4 separate regions of the Homo sapiens genome follow, and regions 2, 3 and 4 are each linked to region 1. Evidence: promoter capture Hi-C in 16 types of primary human blood cells and fetal thymus (Javierre and others, 2016). All regions are on one chromosome and are shown on one strand. Each heading gives the region's core, a stretch centred on a gene start or on the middle of the fragment in contact. The rest is flanking DNA. Distances are from core to core; before and after follow the strand shown.

The links. Contacts are between HindIII fragments. The CHiCAGO score rates a contact against its expected background, and 5 or more counts as called.
Region 2: a contact is called between a fragment that was not itself captured here and the fragment with the promoter of WASHC5-AS1 in region 1, in 6 of 17 cell types (erythroblasts, megakaryocytes, endothelial precursors and 3 more). The highest score is 13.2, in erythroblasts.
Region 3: a fragment that was not itself captured here is called in contact with the fragment with the promoter of WASHC5-AS1 in region 1 in 9 of 17 cell types (megakaryocytes, M1 macrophages, erythroblasts and 6 more); the score reaches 17.2 in megakaryocytes.
Region 4: a contact is called between a fragment that was not itself captured here and the fragment with the promoter of WASHC5-AS1 in region 1, in 10 of 17 cell types (megakaryocytes, M2 macrophages, M0 macrophages and 7 more). The highest score is 13.3, in megakaryocytes.

The regions. Positions count from the first base shown.
Region 1 is chr8:125,039,402-125,041,947 of GRCh38, reverse strand. WASHC5-AS1 (WASHC5 antisense RNA 1) reads right to left here and starts at 1,264. Exons shown (of 2, transcript NR_170219.1): 1 at 1,169-1,264. It overlaps WASHC5 (WASH complex subunit 5), which reads left to right. Exons shown (of 29, transcript NM_014846.4): 24 at 2,050-2,153. The HindIII fragment of the contact is 6,314 bases long and covers 1-2,546 here.
Region 2 is chr8:124,548,895-124,551,440 of GRCh38, reverse strand. NDUFB9 (NADH:ubiquinone oxidoreductase subunit B9) reads right to left here. Exons shown (of 4, transcript NM_005005.3): 4 at 1,462-1,680. The coding sequence ends at 1,549. It overlaps MTSS1 (MTSS I-BAR domain containing 1), which reads left to right. Exons shown (of 14, transcript NM_014751.6): 14 at 1-657. Among named protein-coding and RNA genes, the nearest start is that of NDUFB9, 11 kb to the right of the region's middle. The HindIII fragment of the contact is 729 bases long and covers 905-1,633 here.
Region 3 is chr8:124,568,967-124,571,512 of GRCh38, reverse strand. All of the region lies in intron 6 of MTSS1 (MTSS I-BAR domain containing 1), which reads left to right. All of the region lies in intron 1 of LOC105375740 (a long non-coding RNA gene), which reads right to left. Among named protein-coding and RNA genes, the nearest start is that of NDUFB9, 31 kb to the right of the region's middle. The HindIII fragment of the contact is 8,842 bases long and covers 1-2,546 here.
Region 4 is chr8:124,588,719-124,591,264 of GRCh38, reverse strand. It overlaps MTSS1 (MTSS I-BAR domain containing 1), which reads left to right. Exons shown (of 14, transcript NM_014751.6): 4 at 30-114; 5 at 1,554-1,645. Among named protein-coding and RNA genes, the nearest start is that of NDUFB9, 51 kb to the right of the region's middle. The HindIII fragment of the contact is 2,738 bases long and covers 1-2,546 here.

The sequences.
Region 1 (2,546 bases), core at 15-2,514:
GAATTATATGGGCCAGATACAGGGTTTCAGGGACATTTTTATGTGGCCTGAAAGAACCTACTATTTTCTTGGATTTGCTGCATTCTAATTTTTAAATAATGCTACTCTATAAATTCAAACACTTCCTATTTATAAATAGCATTTTTGGATTGACGTTTTTCACATAAATAGAGTAATAGTCTTGTATGAATAGTGGTCAAAAATAATACATCTGAGGTCATTTAATACTTTTGACCATTACAAGCTCCATTTAGCTAAGTAACTTTTGCTCATTCTTAGAGAAGGCCACCCTCCTTTTCTTTTTTTTTTGAGACAGTCTCACTCTGTCGCCTGGGCTGGAGTGCAGTGGCACAATCTTGGCTCACTGCAACCTCTACCTCCTGGGTTCAAGTGTTTCTCATACCTCAGCCTTCCAAGTATCTGGGATTACAGGTGTCCACCACCATACCCAGCTAATTTTTTTATTTTTAGTAGAAACAGAGTTTTACCATTTTGGCCAGGCTTGGTCTCGAACTCCTAGCCTCAAGCGATCAGCCTGCCTCGGCCTCCCAAAGTGCTGGGATTGCAGGCGTGAGCCCCTGTCTTTTCCTTAACTCTTCTCTGCCCCCAGCAACTCAGAGGAAATGCATTTATTTCCACCTTATTGCTGCTTGCATTATAATACTGTCTTCCCTCCTCTCCCCACCTCCCTCACTCCCCTTTGCCAGTCTTTTAGGAATACTTTGTCCGAGTAGAAAAGAAGACATTTATAGGCAGAAAAAGTTAGAGTGTGCTGTTGACCTTATGATGCAGACAACATTATGAGGGCAAACTGAACTCTCAAGCCTGACCCAAAGATCGCTTCCTATCATCCAACCATTGCAGATAATCTCCAAGTATCATTTATGCTCATAGCTACTTTTAAAGTACTGTAGTTAATACACCATCCTAGCATAACTCTATATCACAGATTTGTTCTTTGAATGGTTAATTATATTTCATTACAACTGGCTTCCACTGTTACCCTCTATGTTTTATTTTGTACATTCAAAAACGTTATTCTGAAATGGTGTCCATAGGCTTCACCAGATTCCCAAAGGGGTCCAAGGCTATATTAGTCAATTCTCACATAATAAAGACATACTCAAGACTGGGTAATTTATAAAGGAAAGAGGTTCGATTGACTCACAGTTCAGCATGGCTGTGGAGGCCTCAGGAAACTTACAACCATGGTGGAAGTGGAAGCAAACATGTCCTTCTTCACATGGCAACAGGAAAGAGAAATATAATCAAAAGGAGAAAAGCCTCTTATAAAACCATCAGATCTCGTGAGAACTCATCCACTATTACGAGAACAGTATGGAGGTAACCACCCCCATAATTCAATTACCTCCCACTGGGTCCCTCCCATGACACATGGGGATTATGGGAACTACAATTCAAGATGAAATTTGGGTGGGGGCACAGCCAAACCATATCAGACACACAAAAAAAATTAAGAACCCTGGATTAAGGGGCTATCATTGTTAAAATTTTCGTGAAAGATTTTATGTAGATTATTTTGTAATCCAGATAATTATAGAACCTATAATCCTGAGTGGCATGGACAGACTTAATATTCACCCAATTTGAGAATACTAGTGTGAAATGGCATTCCTAGAGCTTGAGAAAGTTCCATTTAGGATAAATAAAAGGAAGTAAGTAAGACTTCTCACAGCAGCTACTAAATTTGGAGCACTTATTCCAAAAGGTTAAAAATATAGCTTCAAAAAAGACATCTTTGATACATGAACAACTGAACATTAATAGATCACTTTGTGAATCATAGACTTTGGGGTATTTTTAGGTTGGGGTATGGGAATCCATCCAGACATTCCTTGAAGGGCCTCTGGTGCTTCATTAGATCCAGTGCTGGTCTTAGCCAAGAGATCAGTTCAGGAAATCCTTATTTTTTTTCCTGTAGAGTGATGTGAAGGCCCAGTGAAGAATTGTCATCTTTGTGTTTACCTCCTCACTGTCACTCTGAAATGCTTGAATGCACTACCTGTTCTTTCTCTTGCTTGTGCACAGGTTGGGCAGATGCAGATTCTGAGACAACAGATTGCCAATGAATTAAATTATTCTTGTCGGTTTGATTCTAAACATCTGGCAGCTGCTCTGGAGAATCTCAATAAGTAAGTGCCAGGGTTTGAAACAGCCATCCGTGGGCTTGGATTGTTTATTATCTACGCACCCCAGTTTCTTCAGTTCTTACTCTTTTAAGTTATTTTTGGGTGGAAGGTCTGAATTTACAGGCTTCCTTGCCACGGATAATCAAATCTGTCTTCGGAGCCTCTTTCCTCAGTATTGTCCCTCCGTTTATCTCTGTCTCTCACTCACTCTCTCTAATGGATTCGTGTATTCAGCAGACAGGTACTGATCACATGATTCAATACATGTCTGCTGAACAAATGAATTCATTAGAGAGAGCGAGTGAGAGACACACCAGACACTGCTAGATACTTGCACAGATTTTAGAAAGCAATTATTACCAAAATCCGCAACTGGCTTTTTACAGGGCTGATCAC
Region 2 (2,546 bases), core at 20-2,519, 490 kb after region 1:
GGTCATTGTTCTATATATTAACATTGAACACTGCTGCGATTGCTCAAGGACATTTTATGTTACGGCTTTAAAGCAAAGGCATGATTATTAGAAACTATTTAAGCTTTTTTCTTTGAAAAACAAGCTCCTTTTACAGAATATAAACAACAGTAGTGCCTGTGGTTTAGCCCACCAATCTTGATGACTAAAAGTAGCTGATGCATTGTGCATATGATGCTTGAGATGGTTTTTGCAAAAGCAGAAATCGCTGCAAGGTAATCACAATAGATAAAAGTGGTATTTTAAACCTTTGAAATAAATGGATGTAACTGTACCTTGGTACAGCTTTTCACTTGTTTAGTTTTTAAACGTTAGTATAATCTGAATAAATAAAATGTTGCCAAATTCAATGTAGAAAGAATGTGACAACACACCTTGGGTAGTTCTGCTTGTGTTTTTGCATATTGTAAAAGCAGTGTCACAGCTAAAAAGAAAGAAATCGTTTCTAACAGTAAATTATTGTGCTTTAGTTGCTAGTTTGTACTGAGAGTTGACCTCTCCCTGTGCAGTTTTTTGTTCTAAACTTGTATAAATAACAATTGTGTAATGTGTCTCCCTCCTACATTGTAACAATTGCTTCAGCCTACGTTATAAATAAAGAACCACTAGATTAAAAAAGTCCTGTATTTCAAGTCTTGTTACAATTCAGTTTGAGGTCTTAGTCAAATGTTAGAAGATGGACTGGGACTCAAATTGAGCTTACGTAGAAAAGTGACAAAATATTTTTGTGATGGCTATAAGATCATTAGTTGCCTGAAACTATTTGAAAACAGTTCTAGCTAATGAGGGATCAAGAACTAAAAGCAGCTGTTTTGGGTTGAAAGTTTTAAAAACTGCTTTATCTTTAAAAAACAAAAACAAAGCTTCTGAAACATTTAAGGAGTTCTGTTATTCCCTTACCTTTGAGTCCGCAGACAATCCAAGCTACGGTAGCAGAAGCAAAGCTGGAAAACTGCTTCTAAAATAAGCGCCACAAAGTTTTATCCCAGATTGGACCATTTAACCCCAACCATCAAACCTCCACCCCTGACAGAACTCCACAAATTCCATGCTTATTTGTTGACTATGTACTTCTTAGGGAGAGTTGTTCTTCTAATAAAAACTAAGTTCCATTAGTGAAATCTTTAGAAAACCAAAAAGGTTATTTTTAAATCCTCAGTATTTCTGTTCTTGGCTTTGTTTATTCCTTCTAGTTACCACAGCTAATTAGGCCTTTGACTTGAGAGTTTGTTCGCCTCAATCTGGTTCTGCCTCAGTTTTTCCTTACTGGTAACATATGCTATCAGTGATTTATTGCAGAGAACACAGCTGACTGACTACATGTCCTGTCATTTTCTTTACATGCACGATTGATAAAACAATGACAGTGGCACAGTCACTTGGCATCACAGTAATTCTTAGAAGAACGTCAGTCATACCAGAGACCATTTCACTGATTTTTTATTAGGGCAAGTGCATGTTCTGTAACATATTTCACTTGCAAGCATGAAAGATGAGGTCTCTCTCTTTCTACATGGGCCGCTCCCGGGGTCTGGTCACAATATACCACCACAGTGGGGGCAAATCACCTTCCTTTCGGGCAGGGGGCAAAGCTTCAGTTAAAGGACCACCAGGTGGCGTTTCCTCCTGCAGCTGCTTAACCTAGAAGGAGGCAAGGAAGGAATCATTACCAAAGGAATCTAATTGACTATAAAAATCTGTCTGCTGCAGTGAAGGGTCAGCTTTATGTCTATGGTGTGTCACTGACATTACACACTATCTGATCACAATATTGAAAAGTGTTTTTTACATATACCTGCTTTATTTTCATATCCACACTTTTAGAAAAGTCTCCTTAAGGGTTTTCCCATTCTTTTAAATAGCAAAGCCTACCCTTCCTATTCTTCCCCCTACCCCTTTTCATCACCTCATTATCTGGACCTCCTCTTATTCTGCAGACAGAAAAATGACAACTATCATTCCAATTCTCCTTGTCACAGCCCCCACCCACTGACCAGAAAAACATTTATTGTTGTGTCTCAGCTAAGTGTTCTCCAAAAGCACCATTAAGAAACCTCAGTTCATAATATGCTGGGGATGTTAATTCTAAGCCCCCTTCCTAGCAACCAAGAACAAAAATAAATCACAAAATTACATGTAAAAATATGCTCAGTTCTGCCAAGTGCTGCCCTACTACCTCCAGTTCTAGTTATGGCCAAGATAAATGTCCTAACAGAAGATCACCCATTCTGGATTGTGGCTGCCCTGGGCCTCCAGTCACACGTGCTGCTTAATAGTGTTGAAGTGATGGGATGTGTAAAGGAGGAATTGTTTGATGTTATCCCAGTGATCAATTGCAGAATGCACCTGCGGCTCACCATGCATATACTTCAAGCTTCTAAACGGTGAGACATTTCTGACAAAACACTGCCCCCTTTGGCCACAGTGCCCTTCCTTCGGGTCCCCCTTGGCCAAACACTTCCAAAGGTCAATATCCTCAGTGTTATCACCAGAACCAGCACAACTTC
Region 3 (2,546 bases), core at 23-2,522, 470 kb after region 1:
ATCATAGAATAGATCGAGAGACTAGAAGTAGCCCTCTAGACCAGCCCTGAGTCATGTGACCCAACAAGGCCCACAATTGGCCATGCTGTTTGGCTGCTTGCAGAGGAAAAGCAAGGGTTTACAGCTTTCCAGAGCTTCCCTGCTGGTGGACTCGTATCATACACACATTAAGTATATCTGGATTAATTTTGCACTAGCCAGCATTTTAAAATAGAAGAGAAAACTCACAGTTTTCATAGTGCTGGTGGCACCCAGCCTTCCCTCTGTAAGCCGTTGGCCACAGGTGGTGGGTCTCTGTGAACAGAGCACCTGCCCTGAGGCAGATTCCAGGAGAGAATGGGAGAATGTTTTTACAGGTTTCTTGTCTACTAAAAACACATGAAACCAGTGGCTCAGGTGGCCAGATTAATGTATGGTGATGATTACTCCTACATCCTTGAGGAAGAAATTGAAGGCATGGTAAAGAATTATTCTGAGGGGTGGAGGTAGTGACTACATGGAAGAATGGGTGAGTGGGTCACCTTGAAAATATGCTGAAACACCCAGGCGCTGTGGCTCATGTCTGTAATCCCAGCACTTTGGGAGGCTGAGGTGGGAGGATCACTTGAGGCCAGGAGTTCAAGACCGTCTGGCCAATAAAGCAAGACCCAATCTTTATAAAAAAAAATTGAAAAACTAGCTGGGCATGGTGGTGCACGCTGGTAGTCCCAGCTGCTTAAGAGGCTGAGGCTGCAATGAGCTATGATCATTCCACTGCACTCCAGCCTGAGTGACAGAGCAAGACTCTGTCTCCAAAAAGGAGAAAATTATGCAGAGACTTCTCAAGCAGCAAATTTCTTATATATAGTAGTTCCCCCTTCTCCTCAGGGGATATGTTCCAAGACCCCCCGTGGATGCCTAAAACTGCAGATAGTACCCGAACCTTACATATACTGTGGTTTTTCCCATGCATACATGTCTATGGTAAAGTTTAATACATAATTTAGGCACAGTAAGAGATTAACAACAATAATAATAGAACAATTATAACAATATACTGTAATAAAAGTCATGCGAATGTAGTCTCTTTCTCTCTTTCAAAATACCGTATTTTACCACACCATGGGTAGCTGAAACTTTGGAAAGCAAAACCACAGAGGAGGGGCCAGTGTAGTATAATCGTTGGGTAGCACCCCTCCGTGGACTTAGATACATACTATCTACACATTTGTACTCACTTGACTGATGAGAGTTATATACACAAAGCTGTCCATACTGTATTTACTGGCCATCTAAGGCATTTTCAAGGGTGATCTTTGACTATAATTTTCTCATAATGTGCTAACTTAGAACTTATTCCCTGTCTGAGAAGTGACTTTTCCTTACTAAAATCTGACTACCTTTTCTATTGGGATGTGCTTTAAGCCTGATTGCCTCTTGCTCCAAATTAAACTTTCTCCTCTGCTTATGAGTGAAAAATACAGAATATGTTCCTACATCCAAGGCAATTTTCCCTGACCCTTTCTTTCTTCAGACCAAATGGTTCATTGCATTTAATGTTCTCTACATCACTAAGAGGGATAGATGGAAACTGCAGGGCCCTTCCTGCGAGGCGGTGGGGCAGAGAATAGGTTCAGTGTTAAGGGAATTAGGCAGTGTGGCTCAACCCTGCCTCTGTACCATTCTTTCTGTGACCTTAGGTGAGTCCCTTGACTTCTCTAGGACTTGGTCTCCATTGAAACATGAGCAGATTGGCCCAATTGGATAACCCCTTCCAGCTCTAACATTTTGTGTTGAAACTATTAAACAGACATTTATCAAGCACCTGCTGTATACACACATGACATTGTACTAGGGGCTGTGCTGGGAAAGACCAAAATCCTGCCCTGAAGAAGTTTAGGAAGTATCTCTCTGGTTTGAGTGATAGGTAAGGCCCCTGCATAGGCAGCCCAAGGTGGAAGCTCATGAGCTGGTGTCCCCTGCTGTCACCCTGCTGTCCCCACCTACAGATCAGATTTGTAGTAGCTGCTCCTTTGGACACAGTGCCTCTTGGTCCATGTTTATCTTTTAGGGCAGCAGGCTTCTTTTGCAAGAGGCCATGGTCTGGGGGCCATACTCTGTGTCACACTACTCTGCCATTGTAGGGAGAACTGGTACAGGCAATATGGTAAATAAATGGATTTGGCTGTGTTCTAATAAAACTTTATTTGCAAAGATGGTTTGCTGACCATGTGTTAGTCATTCAAAAGACTAACACCCTGTCTTAAACTCCAGAAGTGGTTGCCTGCACCTAACTGGGGTCTGTGGACCTGGCCAGATAATTCCTAAACATGGGCCAGGCTCCGCATAGACCCCACTTTCAGTTTTTCATCATCAGAGACCTGTCTGGAGGTCTTGTTATTACTGGGCTTGTTCTACAGCAAGAGCATTCAAGACTCTCCACTAGAGAGTCAAAGGAACTGCCAAGGATTCCCATGGGCCCCCAGAGCCAGGAGAGCGGATGCTTGCCACCTTTGTCTTTAGGAGCAGATCCTTCTATCCAGACAGAGGCTCTTTGATTGAGATTG
Region 4 (2,546 bases), core at 25-2,524, 450 kb after region 1:
CCTCACCTTTGCCTCTGTTGCTTTTTCAGGTGGGACCAGGGAGATTGGATCTGCTCTCACCAGGATGTGCATGAGGCACAGAAGCATTGAAGCCAAGCTGAGGCAGTTTTCGAGGTGAGGAGCATGTTTTGGCCCCGATCGCCAACACCCTTGCAGATTTCAGGTTAAGGAAGCAGTCATGTGTGGCACACAGCATTTAAATCCCCACAATCTGTCTGACTTGGCTCATTCATTGCCTGAGTATTGTTAGGCATCTGCTGCATACCAGGCACTGGTCGAGGCCCTGGGGGTGCAGCAGATCACCAGCCAGCCAGGCCCCTGCCTTCACAGAGCCTGTGCTCCTGCATGGGTCTCTCCTTACCCTTTGTCTGTGCAAGGAGCCGGTGCAGCCTGCTGAGGTCTTTTGGGCCCCCACTGCCCTGCGGGAGCCTCGCAAGAAGAGGGGCTGTGAAATTGGAGAGTGAGATGTGCCTTGGTATCCTGTGTGCATCCTCCAGACTCACTGAGGGATGTGGCAGCTCACAGACCACTCCACACCGCCAGCTTCCCATCTGGCTTCCAGGCATCCAGAATAGGGAAGAAATGGTAGTAGCTGGCACCGGAATTGGGTTACAAATGTTCAAGTGAAAATGGACATTGCTTTCCAAGCAGATCAGCATCATTCAGCAGTTTTATGTGATTCTGTTTGGGAGACTGCACAAAATGAAGGGGCACACCTTCAGAGACCTTCACCCCTCAGTAACCCCGAGGCTGGCAGTGCAGCTCGAGAATTTTCTGGGTCTCGTCACTCTTCTCTTTCTCCAGGCTGTGCATACTTAGTGTATATTTATGACCTGTCATGCCGCATGCACAGCAGAATCTTGTGGGTCTTTTTTAAAAATAGTGATGCTGGGCCCCACCCTCAAAGTCTCCATTGGGGGTGAGATAAGGCCCAGGTGTCTTTGCATTTTGGGGGTCCCTGTTGTGCAGCTCTCAGAGGGGTGACCCCTGTGGTTCTGCAACTTGGCTTGTTAATACAAACACTAGAATATCACAGGGAAAATGGGAAGAAGGGTCACTCCCACCAGTCACATTGACAGCTTCTTAGTAGTCATTGAAAAACATTCTTGGGGCCAGGCGCGGTGGCTCTCGCCTGTAATCCCAGCACTTTGGGAGGCCAAGGCAGGCGGCTCATGAGGTCAGGAGATCAAGACCATCCTGGCCAACATGGTGAAAACCCATCTCTACTAAAATACAAAAAATTAGTTGGGCATGGTGATGTGTTCCTGTAGTCCCAGCTACCTGGGAGGCTGAGGCAGGGGAATCGCTTGAACCTGGGAGGTGGTGGTTGCAGTGAGCCGAGATCGCGCCACTGCACTCCAGCCTGGTGACAGAGCGAGACTCTGTCTTAAAAGAAAAGCATTCTTGGAACATGGCTGTTCTGGAGCCCCGGGGTTTAGATGAGAACGTTTCGGGTAATTGTGATTTAGGTATGTTTTGACAACCACATTTAAATCCTGACAACAGAATGTATCTATTTAATTTCTCCCTTTTTCCCCCCCGCTTGGTAAAAGCGCTTTAATTGATTGTCTGATAAACCCACTTCAAGAACAGATGGAAGAATGGAAGAAAGTGGCCAACCAGCTGGATAAAGACCACGCAAAAGGTACAGGGGCGAGATGTCTAGCGCATCACTGCACGCTGGGGGGCGCTGTGGGAAGTTGCCAGCTGCTGCCTGGCCCCTCTGCTAGGTTTATTGGTGTCACCAAAACAGCCAAGGGCCCACTCTGTCCCTACTCTCCTGTAGGCACGTCCGTGTCAGGGGATGAGGAGAACAAAGTGATCCCGTTGTGAGGCTGAGTGCTGTTTCTTTGGTGTGAAACAACATTCAGCAGCTGATAGTCTGATCCCTCAGTGGCATGAATTGTATTCAGCTGAATTAAGAATAAATCACAGGGTGGGCGCGGTGGCTCAGACCTGTAATCCCGGCACTTTGGGAGGCCGAGGCGGGCGGATCACTTGAGGTCAGGAGTTTGAGACCAGCCTGGCCAACATGTTGAAACCCCATCTCTACTAAAAACACAAAAATTAGCCAAGCATGGTGGTGGGTGCCTGTAATCCCAGCTACTTGGGAGGCTGAGACACAAAAATCGCTTGAACCCGGGAGTCAGAGGTTGCAGTGAGCCAAGATTGCACCATTGTACTCCAGCCTGGACGACAGAGTGAGACTCCATCTCAAAAAACAAAAAAAAAGAAAAAGAAGAAATCATAGGCCGGGTGCAGTGGCTCACACCTGTAATTCCAGCACTTCAGGAGGCTCAGGTGGGCAGATCACTTGAGTCCAGGAGTCTGAGACCAGCCTGGCCAACTTGGTGAAACCCTATGGCTACTAAAAATACAAAAAGTATCCAGGTGTGGTGGTGCATGCCTGTAATCCCAACTACTCGGGAGGCTGAGACACGAGAATTGTTTGAACCCAGGAGGCAGAGGTTGCAGTAAGCAGAGATTGCACCACTGCACTCCAGCCTGGGTGACAGAGCAAGACACTGCCTCCCCCTAACCCTCCA